2 separate regions of the Homo sapiens genome follow, and region 1 is linked to region 2. Evidence: promoter capture Hi-C in human tissues and cell types (Jung and others, 2019). All regions are on one chromosome and are shown on one strand. The core of a region is centred on a gene start or on the middle of the fragment in contact, and the rest is flanking DNA. Distances in the headings are between cores, read along the strand shown. Region 1 holds the start of KRT34 (keratin 34). Region 2 holds the start of KRT10 (keratin 10).

Region 1 (3,979 bases), core at 832-3,331, 560 kb after region 2:
CTCCAGCCTGGTGACAGAGCATGACTCCGTCAAAAAAAAAAAAGCACTAAAAGGAAGATTCTGATCATTCCCAAAGAGTGACACACACATTTTATAGCAATAAACTCCAACAGGGATCACGTCAATTGTTGTCCCATAGAAACGGAAACAACCTCACACCTTCTACAAGACTAAGTCTAAACTCCTTGGCATATGCAAGTCCTTCCTCGCTTCCCATCACATCTTCACTTTCATCCCTTGGAGGTACTGCATGCCCAGCCATACCCAGATACACCCTGCCCTGCCACTTCTGTGTCTTTGTTCAACCTCTTCCCTCAGACTGAAACACCCAAGTACTGGAATCCTCCTCTTTGCATCTGAGAAGAGTTCCCTATCTCCTCTTGGGCAGCCTGGATTATTTCTAGAGCATACTGCTTGTACATCTCATATGGTACTTGTTTCACTCTGTCTTGTTTATATCACTGTGTTTATATGACTGTCTTTCTATACTAGACTGTGAGCTCTTTTAAGAAAAGGGCCATGTCTTATTTCTTTTTTGTCCCTCCATCTCCACCACCAAATTCAGGACCTAGCAGTGATCAGCAGAGAGCAGGGCTCAATGAATGATGTCCCTCCTCAGTAATTCCAACACCTGCCTAACCCTCACCCAGCCGCTGAAGAATGAGCAGCTCACTCCACTCCTTGATATGGATGTAGCACCGTCACTCTCTGAGAACATCTTGAGTTCCTCAGAGAAGGGTCCCAGACCAGGGATCCAGACAGTAATCCTCTCCTGATTCCCAGTGCTAGTAGCTTAGTTCTGAGGCCTGCTTTTGTGAATTTGTTTCATACCTCCTCATGGTTCTTCTTCAAGCAGATCAGCTCCTCCCTCAGGGACTCCACCTGGGACTCCAGGTCAGACTTGCAGAGGGTCAGCTCATCCAGGATCCTGCGTATGCTGTTGATGTCCGACTCCACCAACAGCCTCAGGGACTGCTCCGTCTGGTACCTGCACGTGTCGGAGTGGGAGGATAAGTCAGGAAAGAAAACCACCTTCCCCTCTCATGTGTTGTTTGGGTAGAATTGGCCTGAATCTTCTTGAACTTACAGTTTTCTGCCTCTTCTCTTCCATATGCTTCAGTCAAGCTGTCCATGGATAGGCTGAAGAGGTTCCCTGACTCACCTAACACCACGAGGAGCCCACAGGCACACATGAGATGAAGTCTCTCACTGTGTTCTCGGTTTTGTTAGCTAATATACCACCAAATCAATTCCCAAAGAACAATTCATTTCAATCTCTGAATTTTGTGGTTTAAGAAACACTTCCAAAAAAAACCAGTATAGACCAAAGAGCAGGCAGCACATGAGTCTAGTTCCCTATTTGAAACTAATTTTACATAACCAGCCCTAGGAGGAGAAATAGAGAGAAATGGCTTTCTCCTCTCTTCCAGGCAATAGTAGGTCCCTAGGGCCATGAAAGAACCATAGGGACCTTGAAGTTCAACATACTTGCTTCTGAAGTCGTCAGAGGCCAGCTTGGCATTGTCAATGTTCACCACCAGCCTGGCATTCTCAGCCTTGGCACACAGAATCTGAAAAGAAATTTCTCTCATGAGGTACACTTGAACTTGAAAATGTCTTACTGTTCAAAGAGAGCCAGCTGCTGCTGGCCCCCCATATGGCCAACCCCCTCACCTTCTGCTGGAGCTCCTCAATGGTCTTGAAGTAGGACTGGTAGCTGGGGCACAGCAAGGGCTCCTGCTGCTGGGACCGCTCCTGGATGAGTTTCTCCAGCTCCGCGTTGTCCCGCTCCAGCTGACGCACCTTCTCCAGGTAGCTGGCCAGGCGGTCGTTCAGGAACTGCATAGTCTCCTTCTCGCTGCCATTGAAGGAGCCCTCACAGAACCAGTTGCAGTTGCTCACATTGGCGGGGATGTTGCAGGCCCCAGGCAGGGTGTAGCCGTGGCAGCTGGGGGGCACGCAGGGCCGGGAGGAGCAGCTGGTGCGGCAGCCCAGGCTGGGCAGGCAACAACTGTAAGACATGGTGCTGGAACAGGTAATGGAAAAGCAGGTAAGCTGCTGGAGGTGGATGTGGGCAGGTTTGAGTCTCTCCTTCCTCTGCAGTCCTTTTATACCATTAATTGTGGGTGGGGGCTTGGCATACAGCATAGTTTCCTTTCCTAATGCTTCAGCTAATTTTTCTCCAAAATATGCTAGTTAGATGCTTCTAAAGAGTCCCCCCTCAACCCATAAAATTATTCCATTCAGCTTATGTCACACCAGGCTCTTCCTGGGTGCTAGTGGTTGGTGAAATCAGAGTTTCATCAGATGGCTTCATAGGAGATAGAATCATCACAGCCCCAAAAGGCTGTCTGCATTACTCAGAGGGGAGGACAGCCAGGGACATGGGGTGGAGTTGTTTGGGAATCAGGGATTCCTCACCCAGGAGTTTCCGCCACTGTTCTTTCTCCCCAGAGAGAGAGCTCTGAGAGAGAGCTTTGAGAGTTACTCTTCCAAGTAGCTCTTTCCTCCCACATTCATCCATGTTTCAGCATTCAATTTGTTTTTATAGCAGAAACTCAACCTGTATTCGCCGAAATGATCCTGAGCCTTACTATTCGTTGGGGTTTAGGGAACTTGCCAACACATGGAGCAACTGAAAACAATGGCATGTTCATGGTTGAGAAATGAGAAAGTAAAATGGAAACCAATGGAATGGATGGGAGTATACCTAAAAGAGGGCATCTGCAAATGGCAGCCCACACGTCAAGTTTACCCTGCTGAATTTTTGTAAATAAAGTTTTTGTTTGTTTGTTTTCTGTTTTTTTTTTTTTGAGACAGAGTCTCACTCTGTCGCCCAGGCTGGAGTGCAGTGGCACGATCTCGGCTCACTGCAACCTCCACCTCCCGGGTTCAAGCAATTATCTGCCTCAGCCCCCCGAGTAGCTGGGATTACAGGTGCCCGCCACCACACCCGGCTAATTTTTGTGTTTTTAGCAGAAATGGGGTTTCACCATGTTGGCCAGGCTGCTCTTGAACTCCTGAACTCGTGATCCGCCCGCCTCGGCCTCCCAAAGTGCTGGGATTACAGGCGTGAGCCAATGCGTCCGGCAGTAAATAAAGTTTTAATGGAACACAGCCATGCCCATTTGTTTAGCTATTGTATATGGCTGCTTTTGTGCTACAGTGGCAGAGTTGTGTAGTTGTGACAGAGACTATAGTGTCCACAAAGCCCTAAAATTAAAAAATTTGCCAACTTGTACTAAAGCAACAGCCTCTCTAAAGATGAGCAAGAGTAGAAATATCTAGAAGAAAAAATATGCTGGAAACAGTCTGGAGCAGTGAGAGTTCAGATGGCAGCACTGAAGCATGAATATGAAGCATAATACTGCAGACTCACCAAGAAACGAAAATTGGAGCAAGGGTGCTCAGAGGTATCTTTGTATCCATGGTGGCTTTTTCTCAAATTCTCTGGAAATTTCTATCATCTTATTTCTAGACTTGTTCCTCTTTCTAGAGTATTAACTCTCCTAGAGGTATGACTATGCCAGCCTGAGATGCTTCCAGGACAAGCCACAGTGCCCATGAGAATGCAGATTTACTCTGTTGTCCCTACAAGTAGACACTGTCTCTGATAAGTGTGCTTCTATCACCTCTGGGATCCAGTTACCCTTTGACTCTTGCATAACCTAGGGAGCCTCTCTATTGCCCAATAATCACTCTTCACAGAATAGCCTTCCCTACCTCACTTCTTTTCCCTGTCACTCTACCTTGCCTTTGTTCCGCAGGGAAACAAAGTCATGTTTCAGAAAGAAGTCCCAAAAGATTATTTGTGGAACACAATACAAATCATTTAAAGAAGGCTGCATCTGAATTTCAAAAGCAGCATGAGAGGAGCAGAAAAGCACATCTTCGATTTTATTTATTTGAGTGTTTCCTCTTTTTTTCTTAGTCTATCTAGAGGTTTGTAAATTTTCTGTGTCTTTCAAAAAAACTCTGT
Region 2 (3,967 bases), core at 623-3,122:
AGCAGCTACATAGTTGATCTCATGTAATGGCAATATTTGTCATGTACAGTTCTCTTAGAAGTAATAGTGGTTTAATGGAAAAAACCTTAGCAGTTACTTTAAAATGCATTTTCTTCCTTTAATATTGCCAAAAAGGTAACACTGACATGGAAAATTTCTCAGATAACTCCAATACTATTTAACTTTGGGTGAATTCAGAAAAATGTAAATGTTATTGAGGGCATCCCAAGTCATTGTTAAAAACCACTGATGTATTCGTTGTGATAGTATTATACAACGATCACTTAACTTACTTCAGCCTGAAGTCATCAGCTGCCAGCCTGGCATTGTCGATCTGAAGCAGGATGTTGGCATTATCAGTTGTTAGGTTGAGAATCTGGAGGGAGAGGCACAGTTATTTGAGAAGAGGTCAGATGCAGATATGGCTTTTGTAGTGACATAGATGCACTCTGCACTTTTATGTTGTTCTCTTACAAAATCTTGGGAAAATTTTTTATTTTAAATATGAAATATTGCAGGCTTACCCATATACTTAACTTTGAATTATTTGTTCTCTTGGAATTTCTCCAGTCTTGTATTTCTGTACACGAATTATTCCTTTCTGAAAACTAACTGGAATTATATAGATGTATTCCTGTAAGTGTGCCCTCCTCTTTTAGACTATGTGATTTCCATGTATTTCAGCCATGCTTTGGCTGACTCACACCTGCATTTGTTTAACTCATGATAAATACTAATAAATAAATACACTCTGAACTGGTACACAATAGGTACAATTCAGAAATTCCTTAGAGGCAAGCAGTGTCCCATTTTCATACTGGAAAATTTATTTTTCTTGCCATGTTGGTACTGAATATGGCTTGTTATCAGTCTGAATAACATTTTGTTCTGATTCATATCATGATTTTTTTTTTCAGTTTCTACATTTGTAAATAGCCTAGCATATTTTAACTGTGGACTCATTGTATGCTCATTAAAACCTCAAAAGTGCTTAGTAAATCTCCCATCCTCTTAAGACAAGTAGCACACTTGCTGGATGAAGATTGCCATGACCATAGTTTCACAGATGTTTATCTTTGATGAGACTGGGTTATTTTTGAAGGAAGAAAGTAACATGGGTAAGCATAGTGAACAGCCACATTGTGCTTAATTTAAGATTCATCTGTCTGGATTACATGGACAAGATACTTAAAGCTGGATTTAAAAATACCTCTTACCTGATTTTTAAGGTCATCGATGGTTTTGTAGTATTTGCTGTAGTCACGAGGCTCCCCCTGATGTGAGTTGCCATGCTTTTCATACCACTCCTTGATTTTGCCTTCCAGCTCATAGTTTGATTCTTCCAGAGCCCGAACTTTGTCCAAGTAGGAAGCCAGGCGGTCATTCAGATTCTGCATGGTTACTTTTTCATTTCCAGAGAGAAGGCCACCATCTCCTCCAAATCCACCACCAAAGCCTCCTCCAAAGCCGCCTCCACCAAAGCCGCCTCCACCAAAGCTGCCCCCACCAAAGCTGCCACCTCCGAAACTGCCCCCTCCAAAGATGCCTCCATAACTCCCACCAAAGCTGCTACTTCCATAGCTTCCACGAAAGCTACCTCCACCAAAACCTCCTAATCCTCCATAGCCACCTGATGAGCCCCCAAAGCAGCCCCCACCAGAGCTCCCACGGCTAAAAGAGCCACCACTGAACCCCCCTGAGCTAAATCCTCCACCAAGGGAGCCTTTGCTGCTAGAAATTCTTAGGGATGACACTCCTCCTCCTCCTCCACATCCTCCTCCTCCTCCTCCTCCTCCACTGCGGGAGGAAGAGTAGTGCTTGCTTGAGCTGTATCGAACAGACATGGTGATGCTGTTTAGCCCAGGGAGTGCCTGCTACCAAGGACAGTGACAAGCCTTTATATACTGAGAGGGTGTGTCCACATGTGTTAGAGTTTGCTTACTTACATTGTTTTCTTTTTGCCAACTTAGCATCTTTGGCTTATGATTGCATAAATTATCTTCAGTAATAACCAATCCTAATATGTACAATTTTGAATTTGCCCTAAGAATAAACAGGAGGTTTGCTATGTTGAAATTGAAAATGGGTGGAGTTCAGATGAGCATGTTTTATTATGCTTTTCACCTGTTGAAGAACATTGAGCAACCGTTAAGATCCATTTTTCTCAGCACTAATTCAGGTTGCATAGAATGTTTGCAAAGTTTAGAAAAAAAAGTTTCAGCTACAAAATTATAGTTAAAATAAGATTTTTCAAATTCATGTTTTAAACAGTTTTAATTGGAGCAACAAATAGCATAAAGTCTGGCAGGATCATGCTACAATAAGGTTCTTGTAGACAACTGTAGGGAATCAAAAAGAAAAAGTTTCTAAAAATTTAACTAGCATCAATAGTTGCCACACATAAAACATTAAAGCCATAAAACCACAATTTAGGAGATTGTGTTTGTAGGAGATCTTTTAATTTATTTGGCAAATGAGAGTATATTGATATTTTGCCTAAGAAAGTGGAAGTAATGATTTTAGAATTTTCTAATTAATGATGGCATTATTTTTAACATTAAAAAATCTGAAATCATAAAGTTATCCTGGATTATTTTGCACTTTTAAATTCATCATAGTTAAGGTTTCTGTGAAGACCATAATAATGCAGAAAATCTGCATTATTTTCTTAGCATGAAATCCGAAGAACTAACTTGTAGTACTTTACACTAAGTTCTGATTGAGTAAAAAGGGAAAATTTGGATATGTTATGATTGCAAGTAAAAATTTGCTTGCAAAAATGTAAATCTATATTAGAGAATGATACTTGCACCAAATATTATGAACTAGACTGTGCACATGTGTTCCCAAGCTAGGTTCAGTTTCTCAATAAAAACAACACATTTTCTTGGATATACTGTGTACAGAATTTGGTATAACAGTTTGTCTAGTGAAGTAAATTGGGATTTTGGTACATTGTATAAGATTATATCTACCCATAGGCTATGACATTGCTGTTGTTTGGATGTATATATTCATACATGTTTTACAATTATGTAGTGCTGTTTGTGATACTGTGCTTTAAAAATTTCTAGAACAAGCTGTTGAGATAGGAATGGTGGTTATTATTATTTCTTTTCTTTCTTTCTTTCTTTCTTTCTTTTTTTTTTTTTAGACGGAGGCTTGCTCTGTCGCCCAGGCTGGAGTGCAGTGGCGCCATCTCGGCTCACTGCAAGCTCCACCTCCCGGGTTCACGCCATTCTCCTGCCTCAGCCTCCCGAGTAGCTGGGGCTACAGGTGTGTGCCACCATACCTGGCTAATTTTTTGTCTTTTTGGTAGAGACAGGGTTTCATCATGTTAGCCAGGATGGTCTCAATCTCCTGACCTCTTGATCTGCCTGCCTTGGCCTCCCAAAGTGCTGGGGTTACAGGTGTGGTTATTGTTATTTCTAATTTATAGAAGAGGAAGTTGAAGTTGAGAGGTTGTGATTTTTTCCTGAAGATATGTAACAGGTGGTTGAACTGCAATTAGAAGCTTGGTCTTTTAACTCCTTGGTTCTTTTCCACTTTACCAATGTGTATATATATTATCTGCTCCAGTGGATTTGGTCTAATGGAGATGAATGACTCTAATTCTCACCGTAAACTTCTCCAAATGGGGAAAAAGAGCAAAACAAAAAGAACTTAGAATCATGAAAATATTCAAAGGGTAATGATTTGGCACACACTCTACCTTTAGTAATTGTTTTTTCAAATTAAGTTTATTGCTGCACATTTTGGTTTATGAAAACTACAGAAATAGTTTCTGTAGGGAAGGGAGTGTGGTTGGGAGCATTAATCAAATGTTGATTGTTAAAGTGGAGGTTACTACCCAGCAGATTGCAACTCTTCCAACTTGTTAGCACATGCAAATGGGGCAGTAGTTAAAAGAAAAACTGAAACCCAACCATGGGAATTGATTCTTGATGAAGATAACCTACAGTTAAAG

What was found. The method cuts DNA at HindIII sites, captures the fragments that hold promoters and counts their contacts. A contact is called where the count stands out against the background at its distance.
Region 1: the fragment with the promoter of KRT34 here is called in contact with the fragment with the promoter of KRT10 in region 2 in 2 of the 25 tissues and cell types used here (bladder and mesendoderm cells).

Annotation. Positions count from the first base shown.
Region 1 is chr17:41,380,225-41,384,203 of GRCh38, forward strand. It overlaps KRT34 (keratin 34), which reads right to left and starts at 2,082. Exons shown (of 7, transcript NM_001386014.1): 1 at 1,675-2,082; 2 at 1,489-1,571; 3 at 832-988. The coding sequence starts at 2,022. RefSeq lists an enhancer at 1,075-2,274. The HindIII fragment of the contact is 11,267 bases long and covers 1-3,979 here.
Region 2 is chr17:40,820,742-40,824,708 of GRCh38, forward strand. It overlaps KRT10 (keratin 10), which reads right to left and starts at 1,873. Exons shown (of 8, transcript NM_000421.5): 1 at 1,218-1,873; 2 at 294-376. The coding sequence starts at 1,844. The region is part of intron 1 of KRT10-AS1 (KRT10 antisense RNA 1); the gene reads left to right. RefSeq lists an enhancer at 1-113. The HindIII fragment of the contact is 10,916 bases long and covers 1-3,967 here.